7 separate regions of the Homo sapiens genome follow, and all the other regions are linked to region 1. Evidence: promoter capture Hi-C in 16 types of primary human blood cells and fetal thymus (Javierre and others, 2016). All regions are on one chromosome and are shown on one strand. Each heading gives the region's core, a stretch centred on a gene start or on the middle of the fragment in contact. The rest is flanking DNA. Distances are from core to core; before and after follow the strand shown. Region 1 holds the start of GNPTAB (N-acetylglucosamine-1-phosphate transferase subunits alpha and beta). Region 2 overlaps UTP20 (UTP20 small subunit processome component). Region 3 has its middle 28 kb from the start of MYBPC1. Region 4 overlaps LOC105369935 (a long non-coding RNA gene). Region 5 has its middle 22 kb from the start of ARL1. Region 6 overlaps UTP20 (UTP20 small subunit processome component). Region 7 overlaps UTP20 (UTP20 small subunit processome component).

Evidence for each region. Contacts are between HindIII fragments. The CHiCAGO score rates a contact against its expected background, and 5 or more counts as called.
Region 2: a fragment that was not itself captured here is called in contact with the fragment with the promoter of GNPTAB in region 1 in 8 of 17 cell types (total B cells, naive B cells, total CD8 T cells and 5 more); the score reaches 7.1 in total B cells.
Region 3: a contact is called between a fragment that was not itself captured here and the fragment with the promoter of GNPTAB in region 1, in 6 of 17 cell types (naive B cells, total B cells, M0 macrophages and 3 more). The highest score is 8.6, in naive B cells.
Region 4: a fragment that was not itself captured here is called in contact with the fragment with the promoter of GNPTAB in region 1 in 1 of 17 cell types (M1 macrophages); the score reaches 6.3 in M1 macrophages.
Region 5: a contact is called between a fragment that was not itself captured here and the fragment with the promoter of GNPTAB in region 1, in 5 of 17 cell types (M2 macrophages, neutrophils, M0 macrophages and 2 more). The highest score is 7.4, in M2 macrophages.
Region 6: a fragment that was not itself captured here is called in contact with the fragment with the promoter of GNPTAB in region 1 in 1 of 17 cell types (naive B cells); the score reaches 5.3 in naive B cells.
Region 7: a contact is called between a fragment that was not itself captured here and the fragment with the promoter of GNPTAB in region 1, in 1 of 17 cell types (neutrophils). The highest score is 6.3, in neutrophils.

Annotation. Positions count from the first base shown.
Region 1 is chr12:101,828,856-101,832,242 of GRCh38, forward strand. GNPTAB (N-acetylglucosamine-1-phosphate transferase subunits alpha and beta) reads right to left here and starts at 2,104. Exons shown (of 21, transcript NM_024312.5): 1 at 1,704-2,104. The coding sequence starts at 1,820. RefSeq lists silencers at 1,236-1,530, 1,887-2,286. The HindIII fragment of the contact is 15,537 bases long and covers 1-3,387 here.
Region 2 is chr12:101,380,935-101,384,402 of GRCh38, forward strand. UTP20 (UTP20 small subunit processome component) reads left to right here. Exons shown (of 62, transcript NM_014503.3): 58 at 206-277; 59 at 2,107-2,379; 60 at 2,609-2,735. Among named protein-coding and RNA genes, the nearest start is that of ARL1, 25 kb to the right of the region's middle. The HindIII fragment of the contact is 1,570 bases long and covers 638-2,207 here.
Region 3 is chr12:101,564,988-101,568,622 of GRCh38, forward strand. No RefSeq gene overlaps it. Among named protein-coding and RNA genes, the nearest start is that of MYBPC1, 28 kb to the right of the region's middle. RefSeq lists an enhancer at 1,364-1,658. The HindIII fragment of the contact is 422 bases long and covers 1,378-1,799 here.
Region 4 is chr12:101,533,459-101,536,918 of GRCh38, forward strand. It overlaps LOC105369935 (a long non-coding RNA gene), which reads left to right. Exons shown (of 3, transcript XR_945261.2): 3 at 523-822. Among named protein-coding and RNA genes, the nearest start is that of MYBPC1, 60 kb to the right of the region's middle. The HindIII fragment of the contact is 2,659 bases long and covers 318-2,976 here.
Region 5 is chr12:101,428,406-101,431,749 of GRCh38, forward strand. No RefSeq gene overlaps it. Among named protein-coding and RNA genes, the nearest start is that of ARL1, 22 kb to the left of the region's middle. The HindIII fragment of the contact is 5,381 bases long and covers 1-3,344 here.
Region 6 is chr12:101,359,311-101,362,725 of GRCh38, forward strand. UTP20 (UTP20 small subunit processome component) reads left to right here. Exons shown (of 62, transcript NM_014503.3): 44 at 2,652-2,750. Among named protein-coding and RNA genes, the nearest start is that of ARL1, 47 kb to the right of the region's middle. The HindIII fragment of the contact is 279 bases long and covers 1,677-1,955 here.
Region 7 is chr12:101,331,801-101,335,299 of GRCh38, forward strand. UTP20 (UTP20 small subunit processome component) reads left to right here. Exons shown (of 62, transcript NM_014503.3): 28 at 1,501-1,644; 29 at 2,625-2,704. Among named protein-coding and RNA genes, the nearest start is that of UTP20, 53 kb to the left of the region's middle. The HindIII fragment of the contact is 4,703 bases long and covers 1-3,499 here.

The sequences.
Region 1 (3,387 bases), core at 854-3,353:
AAATCAGTTAACATATGTAAAGCAATTAAGAGAGTGCCTGATACCTGTTAAGACCAATATAAGTATTAGCTATTATTATGATCATTATCAACTGGAGTCAGCAATCAAGGCCAAATCTGCCTAATCATGCAGCTCCTCTTTTCCATTATGCCTTACAAGTTAACCACAGGCCAGCTGCCTTCACCTCTCATGACACCTGTTGGCACTGTCTGCCTCTCATTTCTCTTGTCTGTTCCAAACCTTATGATCTGTGGCCATTTCAGGACTGCAACAAAATGTCTCTCTTTTGGTAAACAGCCAAGCATGGAATGAAAGCAAAAAGAAAAGGATATAAAATGAAAAATTCGGGCCAGGTGCGGTGGCTTACACCTGTAATCCCAACACTTTGGGAGGCCAAGGCAGGCAGATCACTTGAGGTCAGAAGTTTGAGACCAGCCTGGCCAACATAGTGAAACTCCATCTCTACTAAAAATACAAAAATTAGCTGTGCATGGTGGTACGCGCCTGTAGTCCCAGCTACTCAGGAGGCTGAGGTAGGAGAATTTCTTGAACCTGAGAGGTAGAGGTTGCAATGAGCCGAGATGGAGCCACTGCATTCCAGCCTGGGCAACAGAGCAAGACTCTGTCTCAAAAAAATAAAATAAAATGAAGAATTCTAACACCTGATGCCTTTAAGTCATCTTCACACTGCATGGGACTTAATAAACAGTTAACTCAAAATTAATCAAGGCCAAAAAAATCACACAAAAGCAATAAGGCACCTAACTACACACAGATACATTAAGTTGCAACACATGAAACAAAGACGAGCAAGTACTATAATATTAAGTACATATTTCACACTTACAAATCTGGAGCTTTCTCACCCTTATGGTAAGACATTTTTTCCCAGCCTCTAGAACCAAGAACTACTAAAAAAGTACATGCTCAGAATTCATGCCATATAATTTAGCCATTAAACAAACACTTGCACTGCATTCTCTGGCAGTACCTGGCACTGTGCTTGGGCCAGGGTTACAGTATTTACAGACAGCACCTTCTCTTACGGAGCTTACAATCCAGCATGGGTAAAGACTTCAAGCAAATGTATACTGTGGCATTTCTAAAAACTACTCTGTTAAATTTTAAAACCTTTTGTAACCTCCTACCAAAAAAAAAAAAAAAAAAGAAAAAGAAAAAAACTAAAACTAAGGAACAGATTTCAAACCACTTAAAAATACAGCTTTCCTCCCCGTTGCTAAAAGTGGCTTTCTTGGGCCAGGTGCGGTAGCTCATGCCTGTAACCCCAGCACTTTAGAAAGCCAAGAAGGGAGGATCACTTGAGCCCAGGACTTCCAGACCAACCTGGGCAACATAGGGAGACCTCCGTCTCTATTTTTAAAAAACGGTGGGCGAGGGAGCAATATCTAAAATCACATACATGCCTTTTTCCAGTTCTGACTTGCTCATAGTCTCTGCACACGTTTATGATAAAGAATACTGTATTTGGCCGGGAGCGGTGGCTCACGCCTGTAATCCCAGCACTCGGGGACGCCGAGACAGGGCGATCGCCTGAGCTCAGGAGTTCGAGACCAGCCTGGGCAACATGGCAAAACCCCGTCTCTAATAATGAAAAAATACATACTGTATCGGGGCATCGCGGGGCACGGCGAGGGCAGTGCAGGGTCGAGGCGCCCGGTCCAGGCTGCGGCGCCGCTACTCACCTCTCCGAACTGGAAGGCGGAGACGATGGTGACAACGACGCCCAAGAAGCACACGTAGAGCCCATACCTGTGGGACAGGCAGGTATAGGTCTGTCTCTGCAGGAGCTTGAACAGCATCACCCCTTCACCGCCACGCCACGCCCCGAGGAGCCTGAGCCGCCGCCGCCGCCGCCGCCGCCTCAGCGAGCCGCCATTCAGGGGCCCCGGTCGGGCCGCCGCGCGCAGGTCACAGCCTCCGGGCGCCGCTCATTGCAGCTCCGGCGACGGACGCCCGCTCGGCTCCGCGCCGCGGCCGCCGCTTCCGGGAGCCGGGAGCCCACGCCCTCGGCGCGGCGGAGGCGGACCTGCGGCCGGCGAGGCGGCCGGCGCCGCCCGGGTCTGGCCGGGCGAGAGGCGGCTGCGGCGGCGGCGGGGTCTCCAGCGCCACCTGGAGGACGGAGGGGCATAGGGAAGGTGCGCGCCCTCCCCACCTGCGCTTGCGCAGCGGGCCCTGAGGGCTGGGCTGGGAGGGGCGGAGCTGAGCTGGGATCCACTTACCCGGTTGGGCAGGCGACCAAGAGAAAACTGCCCCCTGCGTCGAGACTGTGCCATAGACGGTACTATAATGCCATGAATATTTTTGTGCATAAAACCTTCTCTGCACTTAGCATTCTCTGCAGAGTGCTAAAAGGAGATGCTGTATGTGGCTCCTTTCCTCCAACCCCCAACTATATTGTTTGAAAGAGGAAACCTTTGGGTTAAATCTGCCAAAACCGAATTTCGTTCATTCATTTAGTCGTTAAATATGTAATTTGTGCCTGTTAGGTGGCATAGTGCTTGGTGTCAGGTATTCAAAAATGAACTAGACCTGGCTACTGTTCTCAGAGAGTCTAGTGGGGGAGATAAACATGTAAACCACTAAATACAAGAGTTGTTATGATAGAAATCATGCGATGAACTGGAGGGGAACCAGCTCAGGGGTGGCCAGGTAATCCGACTTTGACAGCAGGTTTTTCCCACGAGATCCTTTCCTTGGTGCCTCTGATTTACGAAAGGGAGATCTTTTTCTTAATCCCAATGCACCCTAGTCAATAAGATTTTTTTCCTAGTCACCCTGGGAAACAATACACTTATCTAATGTTGCCATCATTCAAAGCATTTTTAAAAATATCTTGGGAACCAGCTTCAGGAAATACTCAAATTCGCACCCTCAGTTTGATGGTCAGGTGGAATTAACAGACTTGCAAAAGGGGTTAGCTTCACTCCAATCCAAGGCAAGATTTTTTACACTTTGCAGTCACTTCTTTTAATCCTTCTTTTAAAAAAGATGATTGATATATGCTATATGTACATGGCAAAAGATTATTGCAGTTGTACAAGACACATATAGTTCTGAGGTCTTTTCAAGCATGATAACAGATCTGAGGACTTAATCAGAAGGGGTAAAAAAGCATGGTAACAGATATAAAAACATCTGCCACTCAACAGGACTCTCAGGATAATGGCCAACATTTATGTAGCATCTGCCATGTGCCCAGCTCATCTAATCCTCACAATAATCTTATAATGGAGATACCATTATTATCCCCATTCTACAGATCAAGAAACTGTGATGAAAAAAAGTAACTATCTAACATCACACAAATAGTAAATGACAGAATTGAGATTTGAACCAGGTACTTAGGCTGTAGAACAGGGCCAAGAT
Region 2 (3,468 bases), core at 173-2,672, 450 kb before region 1:
TTATTTGGGATGAAATGCTTAGGGCAGGTAGAAGGGAGCAGTACACCACTTCTGGTCATGAACCTTTCCTCTCCAAATCTATACAGGTGGTCATTCAGAGCAAAATCCAGTACGTTAGTTGTATTACAGTTATTATGTTTAGCTTTTTAAAAACAATCAGAAATGTCCTGTGTTTTGTCTACCAATGTCCATTTTCTTTTCACAGATGAAAAGTATCTCTCTCGCCTCTTGCCATCAATTGCATTCCAAATTCTTGGATCAGTCTCTAGGAGAACAGGTAAGAATTGTAGTTCTCCCAGTTTAAAAGAAGGGGCCGGCTGGGCATGGTGGCTCGCGCCTGTAATCCCAGCACTTTGAGAGGCCGAGGCGGCCAGATCACCCCGAGGTCAGGAGTTCGAGATGAGCCTGGCCAACATGGCGAAACCCCATCTCTACTAAAAATACAAAAAAATTAGCAGGGCATGGTTGCGGGTGCCTGTAATCCGAGCTACTTGGGAGGCTGAGGCAGGGAGAATTGCTTGAACGTGGGAGGCGGAGGATGCAGTAAGCCGAAATCACGCCACTGCACTCCATCCTAGGTGACAGAGCGAGACTCCGTCTCAGAAATAAAGAAGGGGCCTATTCTATCAACAGTCTAAGCTTACATTTGTTATTTTGTTTTGTTTTGAACCTATCTTAATGCTTGGGGGATTAGATGAAATACAGACATACACTCAAATATATGTTCAAATACACATATGTCTTGTCAACACTGGGTCTGTATTGGGATTACTCTTTGCTCCATTTAAAATTCCCAATAAGGGTCTGGGTGCGGTGACTCACGCCTATAATCCCAGCACTTTGGGAGGCCGAGGCAGGTGCATCACTTGAGGCCAGGAGTTCAAGACCATCTTGGCCAATATGGTGAAACTTCATCTCTACTAAAAAGACAAAAATTAGCTGGGCATGGTGGCGCATGCCTGTAGTCCCAGCTACACAGGAGGCTGAGGCAAGAGACTCACTTGAACTGGGGAGGCAGAGGTTGCACTAAGCCAAAATCACCACACTGCACTCCAGCCTGGGCAACAGAGCTAGACTCTGTATCAAAAAAAAAAAAAAAAAAGAGAGAGAAATAGTTATTTCTATGTAGAATGGCGGAAGGAATTTAATGGAGGTAGAGATGAAAGCTGTTGTTAAAAATGTAAAATGGGGCTGGTGTGGTGACTCTCACCTGTAACATCAGCACTTCAGGAGGCCGAGATGAGCAGATCTCTCGAGGCCAGGAGTTCAAGACCAGCCTGGCCAACATGGCGAAACCCTGTCTCTACTAAAAATACAAAAATTAGCTGAGCACGGTAGCCTGTAGTCCCAGTTGCTGGGGTGGCTGAGGCATAAGAATTGCTTGAACCCAGAGGCAGAGGTTTCACTGAGCCGAGATCGCACCACTGCACTCCAGCCTGGGTAACAAAGTGAGACTCTGTCTCAAAAAATACCCAAAAAACAAAACAAAACAAAACAAAAAATGTAAATGGAGGGCCTAGAAGGAAATTGTTTCCTTATTCTGTGTGACTTTAAAGGGTAGAACTAGTCCAGATAGATCAAAGTTACATGGAAATGGGTTTGGATGCCCTATGAGGAAGAACTTAAGAATGATCTAGGCCAGGCACGGTGGCTCACACCTGTAATCGCATCACTTTGGGAAGCTGAAGCAGGCAGATCACCTGAGGTCAGGAGTTTGAGACCAGCCTGGCCAACATGGCGAAACCCCGTCTCTACTAAAAGTATAAAAATTAGCCAGGCATGGTGGTGCACGCCTGTAATCCCAGCTTCTCAGGAGGCTGAGGCATGAGAATCATTTAAACCTGGGAGGGGGATGTCACAGTGAGCCGAGATTGCACCACTGCCCTCAGCCTGGGTAACAGAGTGAGGCTCTGTCTTTAAAAAAAAAAAAAAAAGGAATATCTAAAAATGGAGCCTTCATCATTTAATAGTTGTTAAATAGTTGTAATACCTAGTTTGTTTTTGTTTTCTAATTGTAGAATACCTATTTTAGCTTATGCTCTACTAAGCCTTATTTATTTCAAAATCAATGTCCAATTTCTTCCCCCACCCCGTTTTTTTTTAAAGGTTGTTAAGAATTTGTTGTTCGCAGCCAAAGTCTTGTATTTACTGGAACTTTATTGTGAGGATAAGCAAAGTAAGATAAAAGAAGACCTGGAAGAACAAGAAGCTTTAGAAGATGGTGTGGCCTGTGCAGATGAGAAGGCGGAGTCTGACGGAGAAGAGAAGGAAGAGGTGAAGGAAGAGCTCGGCAGGCCGGCCACGCTGCTGTGGTTGATCCAGAAGCTGTCCCGGATTGCAAAACTGGAAGCTGCTTATTCGCCGAGAAACCCCTTAAAGGTGCGATGAATGCACAGAATGACTGACAGTAGTCATTTCTCTTTAAAAAGTATTTTAATGATATTAGTGATCCTCCTAAGTCCCTAGAAACTTTATCTTTGAACCCCAAACTGCAGCAATAACATCCGTCCCAAAATAGACTGAGCCCTGTTTTCTCAATTAATGCTGTGTCTATGATTGAGTGCTAAAGAGAAGTCTTTCAAATGAAAAAAATGATCTGTACTTTCAGAGAACATGCATCTTTAAGTTCCTCGGCGCCGTAGCAATGGATCTTGGGATAGACAAGGTAAAGCCGTATCTCCCAATGATCATAGCTCCTTTGTTTCGGGAACTCAACAGCACCTATTCAGAGCAAGGTAACCCTGCCTCGTCTGTTCTCCTGCCTTTTGCACATGAGGATTTCTAACTTCTCTCCTGAATGTTTCCTTCTTCCTTTCTGTCCTCCCTCCCTGCCTGAGATTTATTTTTATTTATATATATATTTTAATTATATATTATATACTTATATATGTTTATATTTATATATATACACACACACACACACACATACATTTAAAAAAGAGAGAGAGATGAATAGTGGTCTATGTTATGCCAGGCTGGTCTTGGTCTCAAACTCCTGGCTTCAAGCAGTCTTCCAACCTCAGCCTCCCAAAGTGTTGAGACTATAGAAGTGAGCTACTGTACCCAGCCAGAGTTTATTTTTAAAAAGAAAACTTATATCAAGATAATTAACAAATAGGCATATTTGTATTATATTTGATTGCCCTCTTCTGTATGCTTTCTGCTGTCCCAGAAAGAATGTTTCTCACATAAAAGATGATGCTTTATCCTCAACATAGATTAAATAGTCAAAGAAAACTATGGTTCAGGGTAGTTTTAAACCTCATAGCACAATGAATAATAATGAATAATAAAATGTCATTACATTCTCATCTTAAAAATTATAGGCTGGGCGTAGTGGCTCACGCCTGTAATCCCACACTTTGGGAAGCCAAGTTGGGAGGATCACTTGAGCCCAGAAGTTCAAGACCAGCCTGGGCAACATGGCAAAACCCCATCTCTACAAAAGATACAAAAATTAGCTGGGTG
Region 3 (3,635 bases), core at 339-2,838, 260 kb before region 1:
ATTTCCATAAACTGGTGGCTTACAAACAACATAAATTTATTTCTCACAGTTCTGAAGGCTGAGAAGTTCAAGATCAAGGTGCTTGGCCAATCCAGTATTTGGTGAGGATCCACTTCCTGGTTTTACAGATGGCCATCTTCTTGAATCTTCACATGCTGGAGTGCGGAAGGACGGCAAGCTCTCCTGTCTCTTGTCATAAGGGCACTAATCCCATTCATGAGGCTCTACCCTCATGACCTAATCACCCCTGAAAGACCCACCTCCTAACACCATCACATTGGAGGTTAGGATTTCAACATATGAATTTTGGGGAGACATACACATTTGGTTCATAACACTACTCCTCTTCTTAAAACCTTCCAATGGAAGGTTTTAAGTCATTTATTTTCCCCTACACTTAGAATAGACTCTGAAATCTTTCCTGAACTTCAGAGTGCTGCAGGATCTAACCTCTGCCCATCACTCCAACCTCATTTTGTAACTCCCTGCCTTCCCCTAAACTCCACTCACACCGACTTCCTCCAATAACTCAAACTTGTTCCCATTTAGGGACTTCGCGTTGTCTGTTCCCTCTGCCTCTTCCAGAAACAGTCTTCTCCTTGATCTTTGCCTAGGGATGTGAAGTGTGGACAAAGATGTAACAATAATAAATCTAGAAGGGGGAAGTTCCGTACATACCCATCTCTGCACAGAGTTGCATTTAAAGAAGCTAAAGTTGGCCGGGCGCGGTGGCTCACGCCTGTAATTCCAGCACTTTGGGAGGCTGAGGCGGACAGATCATTTGAGGCCAGGAGTTTGAGACTAGCCTGGCCAACATGGCGAAACCGCATGCCTACTGAAAATACAAAAAGTAGCCGGGTGTGGTGGTGCACACCTGCAGTCCCAGCTGCTTGGTAGGCTGGGGCAAGAATCGCTTGAACCTGGGAGGCGGAGGCTACAGGGAGCTGAGATTGCACCACTACACACCAGCCTGGGTGACAGAGTGAGACTCTGTCTCAAACACAAAACAAAACAAAAAAACAAGAAGCAAAAGTCAACAGAAAAAAAATTATAAAAGTCTTCCACTTTTGCTTGCATCTCTCAAAGAAATTTCAAAAAAAAAAACCCAAATGCATATTTCACTGCAGCACTTATTAAAATCCTCTCTCCTGTCTCATCTACCTCCTTTGCACTCTGCAGTTGCAAACCTTTCTCCAGCATCTCCAAACGTCTAACATCCATTCCCAGAATGTTTTCCTTTCACTCTAACTCCTACTACCTCCATCCCCAACTTTTTCTTTAGGCTCACCTAGCTTTCCTTCCATAAGCAAGAATCCTTCCTCTTTAGGAGTCTGGGTGCGGGGAGAATGCCCTTTGACAGGCCAGAGAGGAAAGGAAAGCTTTCTTTCCTTTTACGTGGCTTTTTCTTGAGTCCCATAACAAGGATGTTTGGCAACCTGTAGGAAAGAATGTGTCATAGTCAAATTAAGGGGAGACAACCAAATTAGGAGTGGAAAGGCACATGAAAGGAATAGCAGCAGGGGGGTTTGCCAGGGTGGAGGGGAGGAAGGGATGACTCAACAACCTGATTGTAACTTAAAATACCACCTCTACTCTATTGATATGTCTGTTGGATGTTACGCATGTGGTAGAATTTTCACAGTTGCAAAATTAATTCTATCCGTGAATATAAGGTGATTTGACATCTTTGGAGTAGATGTTATTGCTTAAATTTTTAAGGGTCACATGTGAAAGTGAGTTACTGAATAATCAAATTGAGAAGAAACACATTACCAGATTTTGCTCGAAATGCATGAACAAGCTTATTGTTGTGAGGAGCAGAGAAGATGAAAGACCAGGGTGTTAGCGAACTTATTTTCTCTGAGGTTTGGAATATAGGTTTGCAGCCTGACAATCTAGAGTCAAATCTCACCTCCACCTTACTTCCCAGCTCTGTGACCTTGGGCAAACTACTTAAACGTTTATTCCTGAATTTCCTCATCCGTAAAATGAGGACATTAATACCTACCACATAGGACTGCTGTACTTGATAAATCATTGTACCAGTGACATTATCACATTCACCTTGAGTTGGAGAGTTAAGAATGGTTTCTTTCTTCTATTAAACCTTCTGATGATATAGAGCTTGAGCATTGTAACTAAATCTAAAGGGAGTGAGAAAAAAAACAACAACAAAGGGGCTGGGAGAAATTTTCATTTGACTGAGCTGTTACTAGCTGGGATAATAGAATCATAATATATGACGAGCAAAGACAGCACTGCAGATTTTTGGCCAGGTATTCACTGAAACCATTAGCACTTCGTATGTCAGAAGTTAAAACCTAACCCCATGAGTGAGGCAGTTTGAGCCTATATTTATAACTGCTCTGGAAGTCTGGTGCTGAGATGAAAGATCCTTATTCATTTGGGATCTTAGTCAAGTTCATGTAAATGGAAGGAAAGGGAGGAAGACTCCAGTTAACTGGTGCTAATCTAAGACAGGACTTGGGATCGATGTCTTAACTTGCCACAGAGATATTTTCCAGAGTGGCTACCAAGTAATGTTGAACTTGGAGGGATGTAAATATTGTCCAACAAAGTATAGTGTGGCTTGTTTATTATTTTTTAAGGAGTGGCTTTCTCTTTATTAGTATTTTAAATTTATTCTACTGTCTCTGTCATAGGAAAGGCTTGAAGGCTTGAATATTCCTGAATTGCTTATCTGCAAGGAAAGCTGGCTTTGGGCATGTGTTCTTGGTAATGCTAGTTTTCCTTTTGCTCTGAGGACAAAGTTGGCTAAAACCAAGTGTAACTGGAGTTATTAAGATTTTCTTACTGTACCTGTCACCAGCTAATTCAGACGCCCACTCTGAACATGTCACCAGTCCTGTCTAATGTCTCCTTAGGCAGACCATTATAAATGCCGCAGAAAAACAGGGCGAAACATGAGTTTTGGAACAAAGAGGCTTTTAAAGAGGAAAGCAAAGCAAGAGAATGGAAGACCCCCCATTCACTTGCCTTTTGGTTGGGGTTTTGCAGTTGCATCAGACTCCGGGCACTTAAAACACTTCACTGTCATCTGTAATAGGATAAGGCAAGAGAGGTTCTTTGTTCAGGGTTCAAGTGCTCTCTCGTGACCATCTCAAAATAACCCTGAAGTGTAATACAGTAGGGCCTCACGTAACTAAACCCACAAGTCTCGGACCTGTCATCATTGTCAACCCAATTGTTCTCTCCTCCCCTCTTAGGCAAGCAAAGCACTTGGATAAATTTTTCTGTCAACACTCAAAGTTGCATAAACTCCTTATTTTTACTTTTCCAAATCCAGTAGGAGTTTCTCTGCCAGTTATAGGGAAATATATAGAAGGCGGACATATCAGGTGCTTCTCTTCCAAATAAGCTTTCCTTGTGGCTTACGCTGTTCTTCACTTGGATTTGAACCCGATCAGCGGCTTTCCTTTCACCAAAGGATCTTATTTTTGTAATTTGTCGGACTTTGCAAGAATTGTGATATTCTCAGCCAGCCCTTTCTTCATAAGGCAAGTGTGCCACTGTTCAGCGTGTATTTATTCCATTAGCCAAGTTATTGCACTGAGTTGAGCATTAAAGAAATCTGATCGTTTCCTTGGTCTCTATTTTGGAAGATGCTGGAGATT
Region 4 (3,460 bases), core at 397-2,896, 300 kb before region 1:
TGATGTTCTTAGCAGACCAATGACTGCCCAGTGGAGGCCTCAGAGTGAATTCTGGAGTATCCTGTCCTGAGAGCCAGACAATCCGAGTCCAGGACTCAATGTTCATGTCTCAGGTTTTACCAAGTTGTCAGGCATCACCGTTTCTTCTTATGACTCTGAAACATTTATTTTGGTCTTAAAAAGAAAGTTTCCTGGAGTTAACAGAACGCATATTGTTTGTAGTGCATCATCTTCTATTCCTGCAAGACTAACCTGGCTAATTACCCTGCCCCTTTGGTGGTTCTGATGAAAACAACTAAAACTTAAATCTTGAAAGAAGCTTCAGAGTAGTGAGAATCATGGAGGTGGTTGGAGGGTGGGGATGGAGCAAAGCTCATCCTGTGATGGGTATTGTCGCCCCTGGACAAAGAGCGAAAGGACAGTGGGTCCCCTTCTATGTCTGGGCCACGACCATCGTGGCCTCCTCCTTTTCACACTGAGTCTCTCACTTCTAATTCCTCCCATTTCTCCTCTCTCCCACAGCCCCACATCCTTTGTCCCATAGAATCTGCAAAAAGGAAGAGAAGACTGTATTCCTCAAAATATCAAGGACGAGGATACTGTCTGACTTGGGAATAAACCAATGGCATATACGAAGGTGCTTAACATCACTAATCACTGGGGAAATGCAAGTCAAAACCATAATGACATAGCTCCTCACACCTGTTAAAATGACTATTATCAGAAAGTCAAATGATAAGTGTTCATTGAGGGTGTGGAGAAAATGGAACTCTTGTACACTGTTGGTGGGATTGTAAATTGGTGTGGCCATTATGAAAAACAATGTGGAGGTTGCCCATAAAACTAAAAATAGAATTCCCATATGATCAGCAATTCTACTTCTGAGTGTTTATCCAAATAAATTGAAATCAGTATTTCGAATTGATATCCACACTCCCTGTTCATTAAGGCATTATTCACAATAGCCAAGACATGAAAACAACCTAAGTGTCCACTGATGAATGAAGAAATAAAGAAAAGGTGGAATGTATACATATACAATGGAATACTGTTCAGCCGTAAAAAATAAGAAAATCCTGTTATTTGAAGCAACATAGAAGAAACTGGAGGACATTTGCTAAGTGAAATAAGCCAGACACAGAAAGTCAAATACTGCATGATCTCACTTATATGTGGAAACTAAAGAGGTTGAACTCATAAAATCAGGAAGTACCAAAGGAGGTTCCCAAGGGCTGGGGGTGTTGGAGAAATGTGGGATTTTGGTCAAAGGATACAAATTTTCATTTATAGGATGAATAAGTTCTGGAGATCTAATGTACAGCATGGTAACTATAGTTCATAACAATGTATTGTATCCTTGAAATGTTCTGAGAGAGTAGATCTTAAGTGTTCTCATCACACATTAAAAAAGGTAGGTATATGAGGTAATGGATAGGTTACTTAGCTTCACTGTGATAATCACTTCACAATGTATATGTGTATCAAAGTATCTCATTGTACACTGTAAGTATACACAAGTTTTATCTGTTAATTCTACCTCAATAAAACTGGCAGGGAGAGAATAAATCCATGAATGAATACAACTGCTGGGTAGAGGGAGGTGTTATATTAATAGACACAAAGGTAAGTCATCAAGAGGCATGGTTTTTCTTCTGTTGTCTAGAAGGGAACAAAGAAGGTGTTGATTTGTTGTTGGTATCTGCCTATCAAAGCCCTAGCCAGGACAGAGTCTAGACATGAGGAGGCATTGCATACAATGAATAGCTCCACGGAGCTGTAGGTGATGAAGACAATAGCTAACTTGTCTCCCTGCTTTAGGATTTTAATGCTGATACTTTTGGATGACATCTCTGCTTCTCTTCTTGTTTTTCATTCCACATTCTTCAATGCATTATTCACCTTACCGACAGCCTTATGCAAAATGCAGCCATTAGCCACAAAGGGCTTTGCTACCAGATGGAGAGACAGTATAATGTAGTGTGAGATTGTGGATCGGCACTGTCCAACAGAAACAGAATGAAAGCCATGAATATCATTGCAAATTTTCTAGTAGCCATATTAAAAAAAGAAAAAGAATAGATTAAATTAATTTTAGTAATGTTGGTTGGGCATGGTGGCTCACACCTGTAATCCCAGCACTTTGGGAGGCCGAGGCCGGCAGCTTGCTTGAGCTCTAGAGTTCGAGACCTGCCTGGGCAACATAGCAAAATTTGTTCTCTACTAAAAACATAAACAAAAAAAAAAAAACAAAAATTAACAAGGCGTGGTGTTGCATGCCTGTGGTCCCAGGTACTGGGAAAGCTGAGGTGGAAGGATTGCTTGAGCCTAGGAGGTTGAGGCTGCAGTGAGCCCAGATCGCACCACTGTACTCCAGCCTGGGTGACAAAGTGAAACCCTGTCTCAAAAAAAAAAAAAAAAAAGGAAAGAAAGAAAGAAAAATTAATTTTAATAATGTCTTACCTAACCCTGTGTATTCAAAATATTATCATTTCAACACACAATCAATAGAAAAAATTATTGAGATTTTTATATAGCATTTCATACTAAGTCTTCAAAATCTAGTATGTATTTTATACTCAGAGCACATCTTAATTCTGGCTGGGCCACATTTCAAGTGCCCAACAGCCCCATGGGCTAGTATACACATAGAAGACCTAAGTGTATAATCTTGGGAAAATTACATAATCTCTCTGTGCTTCAGTTTCCTTGTCTATAAACTGGGAGAAGTTATAGTACAAACCTCATTTAGAATTGTTATGGAGATTAAAAGAGCACTTAAAACATTGCCTGGCACAGAGTTGGTGTCCAATAAATGTTAGCTCTTACTGTAATCAGATATAAGTTTAACCACCTCCTAATGATCAAAGCAATCTCTCAGTAAGGTCTGACTTTGGGGTTTCTAAATTAGAACCGTATGTCTGATATCTTAAGATGATGAAAATCATATGCCATTTCAAAACTCCTACCTCACTTCAAAGCTTAACACGGAAAGTTTGGTCTTGAGCTGTACTTTCACAGCTGGGCAACCTGTAATCTGACAAACTTCTTTACACCATTAAGTCTGCAAATAGACTCTTACTGAATTTTGAAAATAAGCAGTATCATATTTTTATTAGGATGTAAAATTAGGTTCACAGCTATAGAATTTTCCCAGCTTGTTTTTTGGTGATCTCTCAAGAGATTTAAACCCTACTTTACCAGGGTAAGAAGATAGTACTTGTCTTCTCAAAACTATGGCTTCCAGCCACAAATCCATATTAATATCACAGGATAACTTTGAGAGGCTGAGGTGAGTGGGTCACTTGAGGCCAGGAGTTCAAGACCAGCCTGACCAACATGGTGAAACCCTGTCTTTACAAAAAGTACAAAAATTAGCCGTGCTGGTGGCACGCGCCTCCCAGCTACTCAGGAGGTTGAGGTGGGAGAATCACTTGAACCTGGGAGGTGGAGGTTGCAGTGA
Region 5 (3,344 bases), core at 641-3,140, 400 kb before region 1:
CCAGGCTGGTTTCGAAATCCTGACCCCGTGATCCGCCCACCTCGGCCTCCCAAAGTGTTGGGATTACAGGCGTGAGCCACCGCGCCCGACTGGCAATTACATTTGAACATGAGTTTTGGCAGGAACATTTAAATAATAGCAGTTACTTACTTTTTTAGAAGGCTAACTTTTTAAGGGCAGCGTCTTTCTTATTCTTCTCTGTATCTCCAGTGCTACCACACTGGAGTTCAATAAATGTTTGTTGAATTCATGAAGGATGAGGCTTGAATTTCTTAACTTAGCATTCAGATACTTCCATAATCAGATCCAACTGACTACCTCTCTCCAGTTCAGTCAAACATTGTGGAATCGGGGGGAAACTCACTGTTTCCAGGACTCTGTAGATTTTGCTTCTATAGTGAGGTTTGCCATTACCATTGGGAAAGCCATCCAGCCACTCTGTGGTTCAGATTCCTCTGCAAAATGAAGGATTGGTCAAGAGTGAAACTCCTCAGACTTTAATGTCTACATACAAAGCACCTGGCCGGGCGAGGTGGCTCAAGCCTGTAATCCCAGCACTTTGGGAGGCTGAGGCAGGTAGATCACGAGGTCAGGAGAACGAGACCATCCTGGCTAACAGAGTGAAACCCCGTCTCTACTAAAAATACAAAAATTAGCTGGGCGTGGTGGCGGGCGCCTGTAGTCCCAACTACTCGGGAGGCTGAGGCAGGAGAATGGCGTGAACCTGGAGGTGGAGCTTGCAGTGAGCCGAGATGGTGCCACTGCACTCCAGCCTGGGTGACAGAGCGAGACTGCATCTCTAAAAAAACAAAACAAAAAAACAAACAAAAAAAGCACCAAAGACCTTGAACATGCACAATCAGACTGTGATTCTGCATTTCTACAAGCTCCCAGGGGATGCTAATGCATGAATATTTGTACCTTTTTCTACCTTTCAAAGATCATGTTGAAATTTAATCCCCAGTGTGGCAGTATTGAGAAGTGGGGCCTTTAAGAGGTGACTGGGCCATGAGGGCTCTGCTTTCATGACGAATTAATCCATTTCTGGATTCACGGATTCATGAATTAATGGATTATTATGAGAGTAGGACTGGTGGCTTTCTAAGAAAAGGGAGACACCTGAGCTAGCATACTCAGTCCCCTTACCATGAGACATCCTGCACAGCCTTGGGAGTCTGCAGAGAGTCCTCACCAGCAAGAAGGCTCTCACCAGATATGGTCCCTTGACCTTGGACTTCTCGGCCTCCATAACTATAAGGAATAAATTCCTTTTCTTATAAATTACCCACTTTCAGTTATTCTGTTTTAAGCAACAGAAAACAGACTAAGACAACTATTGAAGTAATTACGAAGTTCTATGTTCTCTGGTCTATTTATTGTCTTTTTCATGACTGATGCTATAAAGTTCTGTATATTGCTTCTCTTTCCTGAGATGCTTTCTCTATTCATTTCCCTCCATATAAATCCAACTCACCTTTTCAAGCTCTTTCTCCTGGGCAAAGCCTTCCATTACTACTCTAGTTCCCCAATTCCCCCCATCTTTATTATATTATAGTATCCATTGCTGGCACTTGGAATGTTACACTAATCACCTACAACTATTAATTGTTGCTTATCATTATGTACACAAGTAACCAGTTATATATATTTTTTTCTTTCCTAGGAGGCTTACCACAGTGGCTCAGGTATAGTAAGTTGCAAGTTTTGTTGAATAAATGAATGAATGAATGAATAATTTACTATAGCATTGGTGCTCCAGAGAGATATCAAATGTTTCAGTATTTTATAAAATTGTTTTCCAGAACATAGAGGAAACTGCCAATTTGGAATTTCCCCAGCCTATTCAAATGAGGCAGTCCAAGCTAAGCAATAATTTGATCCATTCAAAAGTTAACGATATTAAAAATAAATGTTGATATTAAATTTCAAATTTCTCTTTAGCTTCTGAAACACTGGCATTTGCTACTGCTGTTTTTGTCTCACTTTTCAAAGCCAAATACACACAATATATTATGCATGAGAAATTAGCATCATATTGCATAAAAGATTTGTCCATAGAGTATGATTTGTTATTATATCATGATTTCAACAGCTTGGTCAAACAATCTGCTTTATACTAAATATCATGCTGCATACCAAATAATGAAGTGGACTTTCTGCCTGTTGAAAGACAAAGAATCTTTATTATTGATATAGAGAAGTTGTTTTAATCTTAAAGTTAAAATAAGGAAGTTCTTTGAATATTGCTTAACTCACAACTGTGGGAAAAAACGTAGAAGCATTTCAGAACCTACCATCCTACTTTGCATTTCTATTGAACAGCTGCGTTTTAACCACCTTGCAATATTTGTTGTATAAAATACACTTTAACCCTAATATAAATTTATAATTTTTGACAAGAGTAAGTAACTATATTACATATTACCAAATTTTTGATCAGATAAATATTTTGGTTGTAAGTCATTATAATTGAAATTTACTGTAAAATCTCTTGGTAAACTTGTAAAGTATTAGCTCCACAAATGTAAAGCATTATAATCATTACTATGCAAAACATATAATATTTCTGAAAATGCTGGAAAATATAAGCTAAATGAGTACACCTAATAAAGTAATGTATCACTTGAATAGGAGCTATAAAGTATAATGAATCTTATTCTTAACAGATTTTAGTCATTTAAGTTTGTTTTCTTTAAAGAATTTCTATTCTTAATTTAGTTTACATACCTCTGATGGAAACTTCTCTTCACAAAGTAAAGTGAAGATTCTCAGAAGACAGACATTAATATTCACTTTTAACTATCTTTTCATTTATGTAGTTCTCTAGCTTCTGATAAAATATTTATGGAAGGAGGTCATCTTTAGTTCTGGTTTTGCAAAGCTCTCTGTCATCTGTAATCTCAGTTCTTCAGAATAGAGCAACACAGAATACAGAATTCATAGAGACCAGAAGGGCTGACTCAGGCCTGGCATTTTTATAGAATGCTTAGAGCCAGAAGAACCTCGGAGATCATCTGTTCCAGTCTCCTTGTTTTACAACTGGGGATGCTGTGGCCTTGAGGTCACCCTGCTCATTAACTTGAACTCTTCTCTTCTTCAGTCCGTAGTTCTTTCCATCTTGTGAATTGAGACATGGGAAAACTAAGAATACTAAGAGCATCAGAAAACACAGGTAGGTGAAGGAGGTAACAAAGTCTCTTCCAGACGGCCGTGAAGCCCTGCCATTTGCAGCTTGCATCTCCACACCTGGGTCAACTCTCAATGGCTGCCATCCTTGAGAGGCTTAAACCTCAACCAGTGACTGGCAATTACTAGACTGTTGATTAGACAAATGGAATATCTCT
Region 6 (3,415 bases), core at 566-3,065, 470 kb before region 1:
CTGCCTTGGCCTCCCAAAATGCTGGGATTACAGGCGTGAGCGACTGCACCCAGCCCCAGTATTTTTTAAAGTAAATTTCCTGCAGTGCACTCTTTCTCCTCTCCTGGGACTCCAGTGAAATGAATGTTTATTTTTCTCCCACTGGTTCCTGAGGCTGTGTGTGTGTGTGTGTGTGTATGTATGTGTGTGTGTATATATATATATATATAGCTCTTCTTCCACTCTGTTTAGGTTGGATAATTTCTTTCAGTCTATCTGCAGCTTCACTGACTCTTCCCTCTTTCATATCTTTCTGCAATTGAGCTCATCCAATGAGTTTCTTATTTCAGTTTTTGGGTTTTTCAGTTCTAAAATTTTCATTTATTTTTTCTTTAGATCTTCTGTTTCTTTGCTGACACTTAATTTTTGCATTTGTTTCAGTCTTTCAGCTAGAAAACTGGGGCTTTATTTTTCCCACTCTGCCATGTGCCTCCTGCAGCTGTGCCCATGTCAGGGGCCAAGCAATGGCAGCACAGAAAGAGAAAAGCAACTAGACTAGGCCAACCCTCTCAGAACTGTAGTTCCAATGAATGGAGAGGAAGCTTCCCCTCCCAGAGTTGTAGCTCCTGCCCTTCCCCGTTTCAAGGCCACTGCCACCACCACAGCATTGCGAGACATGGTATATTGAGAACTGGACATACAAGGAGGACTACATCTCTGTTCTTGAGGATTCATGCACACATTTTTAAGGAACACTTGAGGTGTTTAAATGAGTAGCCCTTTTTTTCTCTAACCATCTGTTCTTCAAGTCTATCCCATTATTAGTTAAAATAACTAAATTAGAGTTGAGAGAACAACTGATTTCAGCTTTAGTGTTAATCATGTAGACTGTACCAAAATTGTTCTCTTCGAGCATCACTCGTCATCCTCACCTCCACCAAAAGGTTTTTTTACAGTTACAGGAAAGTTGGGCACAGTGGTGTGTACCTTTAGTGCCAGCAACTCAGGTGGCCGAAGTGGGAGGTGAACACCTTGAGCCCAGGGTGTTCAAAACCAGCATGATAACATAGCAAGACCCTGTCTCAAAATATGTATGTTAATTTCACAGCAAACATTTCAAGTACAGGTGCTTTTTGACTTTTATGATGAGACAGTGTCCCAATAAATCCATCATAAAGTTGAAAAATCATAGATCAAAACATTGTAAGTCGGGAACCGTCTATATATAAAAGTACTTAAAGATCACAAGTAGGGGCCGAATGCTGTGGCTCACACCTGTAATCCCAGCACTTTGGAAAGCTGAGGCGGGCAGATCACTTGAGGTCAGGAGTTCAAGACCAGCCTGGCCAACATGCTGAAACCCTGTCTCTACTAAAAAATATCTGTATATAAAAATTGGCATGGTGGCACATGCCTGTAATCCCAGCTACTCGGGAGGCTGAGGCATAAGAATTTCTTGAACCCGGGAGGCAGAGGTTGCAGTGAGCTGAGATCGCACCACTGCACTCCAGCCTGGGTGACAGAGCAAGACTCTGCCTCCAAAAAAATAAAAGACCACAAGAAGGTACATAAGAAACTATGCGTTTAAGACCCAATCTACGTTTTGACAACTAAATGTGTTTCCTTAGCCTATGATCATTATCTGATATTTACCTTGTTAATTTCACAGCACTAGAAGCAGCATAAAGAATTCAAAAAGCTTGAGAGGCAGGATAACCTGTTGTGGAGCCTGGGACTCTGGTTTCTAATCTTCACTCCACCAGTTCCTACCTATGACCTCTTTGCGCCTCAGCTTCCTCATCTAAAAACTGCTGATGATGTAGTACCTACTCCATAGATTGGATGAGTGAGGCTTAAATGATTTAATACATGTAAGGTATTAATATAGTACCTACCCTGTAGTAAGCTCTCAGAAAACATCAGCTTGATTTTTGTTGGGTGCAAAAACTTGTTTCCTTCATAATATTTTATTTACAAGCTTTGATTACATTCAACATGGGCAAGCTCCTTAATTCACAGGTTGGTCTTCTTTCTTTAAAGTTCAGGACTCTTGGCCAGGCATGGTGGCTCACTCCTGTAATCGCAGCACTTAGGGAGGCTGAGGCAGGCAAATCACCTGTGGTCAGGAGTTCGAGATCAGCCTGGCCAACATGATGAAACCCCATCTTTACAAAAAGTACAAAAAAATTAGCCAGTCACGATGCCGGGTGACTGTAATCCTAGCTACTCGGGAGGCTGAGACAGAAGAATCTCTTAAACTCGGGAGACGGAGGTTGCAGTGAGCCAAGATCGCACCATTGCACTCCAGCCTGCGCTACAAGAGCAACACTCTGTCTCAAAAATAAATAAATAAATAAATAAATAAATAAATAAATAAATAAATAAATAAAGTTCAAGACTCTTGTGCCTTTCTTTATAAATCACTGGCCTGGTTTAGTCACAACAATAGATCCTAAGAATGGTAGTGGGTTTCTGAACACCTTTGGTACAAAGTGATCATTTGGTTACAGGATTTTAGATAGTGAAATAACTATGTGTCATTTGTCGAAGCTTCTCCTGGCAATAAAAGACATATAAACTCTGAGTGTTCTCTTTGCAGTGCTTCCTAGATCTTATGTTTTCCTAGTGTGACATTGTTAATATTCATGTTGTTGCTGTGTGTCTCATGTTAGGTCCATGTGCTGACTTTCACCGTTCACATGCTGCTGCAAGGCCTCACCAATAAGCTGCAGGTCGGAGATTTGGACTCTTGTTTAGATATAATGATTGAGGTAAGACTTACAGAAACGAATTCTAATTTTTTTTTAAGTGGGCCAACGACACAAAAAAATCAATTCACCAAATAAGAAATAATAATAGCCCATAAAAATGAAAATAATGTAACACCTCATCTTTTAGATTAGCAGAGGTTTAAAGAGCTAAGACTAAAGCGAGATGGGCACTCTGTCACTGCAAGGAGGTCATAAATTGATATGATCTTTCCGGAAAGTAAGTTGCCATTTTGTATCAAGAGCTTTTGAAATGAGAAAAGATTTTCAGTCACATCTAAGAATCTATTTTTAAGAAATAAGTTATGTTCACAGGAGCTTTATTTATAATACAGTCGGAAATTAATAATAACTTTTAAAATTGGGCCAGGCACTGTGGCTCATGCCTGTAAACCCAGCACTTTGGGAGGCTGAGGTGGGCAGATCACTTGAGTCCAGGAGTTTGAGACCAGCCTGGCCAACATGGTGAAACCCCGTCTCTAAGAAAAATACAAAAACTAGCCAGGCATGGTGATGCGCACCTGTAATCCCAGCTACCCAGGAGGCTGAAGCAGGAAAATCCCCTGAACCTGGGCTGTGGAGGTTGCAGTGAGCGCAGACCGCGCCACTGCACTTCAGCCTGGGCGACAGAGTGAGACTCTGTCTCAAAAAAACAAAACAAAACAAAA
Region 7 (3,499 bases), core at 146-2,645, 500 kb before region 1:
AAAATAAATTATCACTTGTATGTCTAGAGCCCACAGTTTACTAATCAAGTGGGAAAACAATTAGGGGTTGAATCTTCTCCCATTTGTTTTTTTTTTTTTTTAACATTCTGTGCTAGGGAAAAATCCCTTTGAGGCCCTTGTCTTTCCTCTGCTTGGCCTAAAGCTCTTCATTCTTTAATACCCAGTAGAAATCTGCCTATTCCATGAAGCTCTATCCTGAAATTTGTAGTAATTCCTCCTACTGAAATATCTTTGGGCTGGGTGTGGTGGCTCACACCTGCAATCCCAGCACTTTGGGAGTCCGAGGCGGGCAGATCACCTGAGATGGGGAGTTCGAGACCAGCCTGACCAACATGGAGAAACCCCGTCTCTACTGAAAATACAAAATGAACGGGGCGTGGTGGTGCATGCCTGTAATCCCAGCTACTCGGGAGGCTGAGGCAGGAGAATCACTTGAACCCAGGAGGTGGAGGTTGCGGTGAGCCCAGATTGTGCCATTGCACTCCAACCTGGGCAACAAGAGCGAAGCTCCATCTCAAAAAGAAAAAAAAGAAATGTCTTTCGCATTTTCAGTCTCTCACATACATTCAATAAATTTGCCTTTAATAAGATTTTCAGTTGAATTGAGGTCAGGACCTCAATTCATACTAATGGCATGCCACTGGAGCCATTAGTAGGGACTCAATAAATTGTCCTACTCTGAGCCTGAACAAATTGGCTGCGTATTTGTGATTTTATAACTCACAGCGAAGGAGATGCCAGTGGAAGTAGCAATATTTGTTATTTTAAAGGTTTGCTTTTATTTCACACTCATTCCAGCCTCTATGCCTCTAAACAGACAAATCGTATTTCCTCCTAAATTGCATTTTTCTTTGAACTATGTATGTTGAGATCTTCCTATCCCTTGACTCAGTCACATCATCCTCTTGCTGTACAAAGTATTTCACTGTATGGAAAAATCATAAATTCCTTAACTAGTCCCCTAGACTAATTTTAACAAGAATAATTTATAACTTCTAGTCTTAAAAAAGTAAAATATTAAGTATGGAAATAAATAGAAAAATGGCTTTTATTTGAAATGAAGATTTAATTTTTTTCCCCCTAATATAAGGCATTATGTTGGGAAAAAAATTTTAAAAAAAAGTTTTGCTTTGTTTAGAATGTTCTGTTCATGGGAAGAAATCAGGATTTTACTTGAATGAAAAAGTAAAACAATACAGAATACAAAACAACTATTCCAGTTGTAATATTTTTTCTTAAGGATAACTAGTGTGACTACTAGGCAGTGATATTGTTTTAAGACTCTGCTTTCTTTTCTTGTTCAATGAGAAAAGTAAGACAGTTTGCTTGGTTGGTGTTCCCATGTAAATCAAGTCAACAGATTTAGTAACAGGATTTCCAGTTTGATTCTTAGCCACCTGAGCAAGAGTGCCTCTCTGAGGAATCAGGGATAAAAATGATACATATGTATTTTTTGAACAGAAGATCTTTGTTTTACAGATACAGCTGAGATTTATTAATCCATTGAAAAATTTAAGACGTCTTGGAATCAAAATGGTAACTGATATCTTTTTGGACTGGGAATCATATCAGTTTAGAACAGAAGAAATTGATGCTGTGTTTCATGGTGCAGTTTGGCCCCAGGTAAACCTCAATTTCTACATCTGCCTATGTACGTTCTGCTTTTTCCTTTATTACTAACTCACCAACATAGCTACCACCCAGACATGAATGCTTACCTGGGTCTTTCCTTTTACATCGAGCCCTTCTTTCTGGAAGTTTTTAGAACACTTTTCTTTGCCTTCACTACCACCTAAAACTCAAGAGTTAGTTTCTGCTGTACCATGGCATTTACACTTAAGGCTCAGTTGAATATGAATGTGTCTCTTAAGCAACTGTAACATAACTGTTTTTTTGAGATAGAGTCTTGCTTACTGCAACCTCTGCCTCCTGGATTCAAGAAAGAGATTCTCCTGCCTCAGCCTCCCAAGTAGCTGGGATTACAGCCATGCACCACAATGTCCAGCTAATTTTTGTATTTTTAGTAGAGATGGAGTTTCGCCATGTTGGCCAGGCTGGTCTTGAACTCCTGACCTCAGGTGATCCGCCTGCCTTGGCCTCCCAAAGTGCTGGGATTACAGGCGTGAGCCACTGTGCCCGGCCTGTAACATGACTTTTATAGCACCTCACATAGCGTTGCCTCTGGCTTTGGACAAGTGTGAGGGAAAACACCCAGGTGTTTTTATTACATACTTCCTATTTTGATTTCTCTGGTTGTAACCCCTTGGTGATGGTAACTGGTATAGGTATAGACTGAAGGAGAGATTTGATTTTAGGAAATGTTTCTAGGTGTTTGAGGTCCCAGTCATTTCCAACACTCTGAAACCTAAAATACCATTTCCTTTCTGGTGTCTAGCACTTCCATGCATCACCTTTGCCATTTTTCCTATGTAGATGTTCTTTTGGATCTCTTTATACTTTTTCTTATTGTGTCATTTGGATGTTCATCTCTGTCCCTTGTCTTTTTCATCCTGTGCTGTGATTTCTGTACTTGTTAGTTATTTGTGGTTTTTCTATAATTTGGTATATGTATTTGGTATTCTGTTTTTTACTTTGTCTCCTAGATCAGCAGGCTTGGATCTGAGAGTCAATATTCTCCTACTCCTCTGCTGAAACTGATCAGTATCTGGAGCAGAAACGCAAGGTATAACCTTTCTTTTTTCCTTCTTTAAAAAGGGCAGTGTTTTAGATGAATCTGGTTAAAGCAGTCCAGGAAACTAATAGTGTAATTTATGGTCTTTCCATACAGTGAACTACTTTTGGTACAGTTAGAGAATGAGGCAGCTGAGTAAAAGCAAGGAAAGATCTCAAAATACATAGTTTAAAGAAAAATGTAGCCATGCACAGTGGCTCACGCCTGTAATCCCAGTACTTTGGGAGGCAGAGGCAGGATTGCTTGACCTCAGGAATTCGAGACCAGTCTGGACAACGTAGTGAGGGCTTGTCTCTACTGAAAATCAAAAAATTGGCTGGGCATGTGGCGCATGCCTTTAGTTCCAGCTACTTGGAGGCTGAGGTGGGAGGATTGCTTGAGCCAACAAAGTTGAGGCTACAATGAGCCATGATCATGCCACTGCATTCTAGCCTGGGTGAAAGCGAGACCCTGTCTCAAAAAAAAAAAAAAGATAAAAAGATAAATTGCTAGACAGTATATATAGTGTGATCCAGGAAAGTTTGTGTCTATGTGTATAAATATGAAATGAAATAGAAACTGTCCAGAAGGACACATGAGAACTGTTAACAATGTGGCCATAGCACGTGGAGGTTTGGGTAGACCAGAGCAGGGAGAGGAGACTTTTCATAATACATCCTTTGGACTGTTTGAATTTTTTATAATAATTAAACAGGAAAAATAGGTAAAATAACATCTTGCAAAGTAATGAAAATTTTAGAGTATGTATTACAGCTAAAACTAATACTTTTTAATAATTTTTACAGT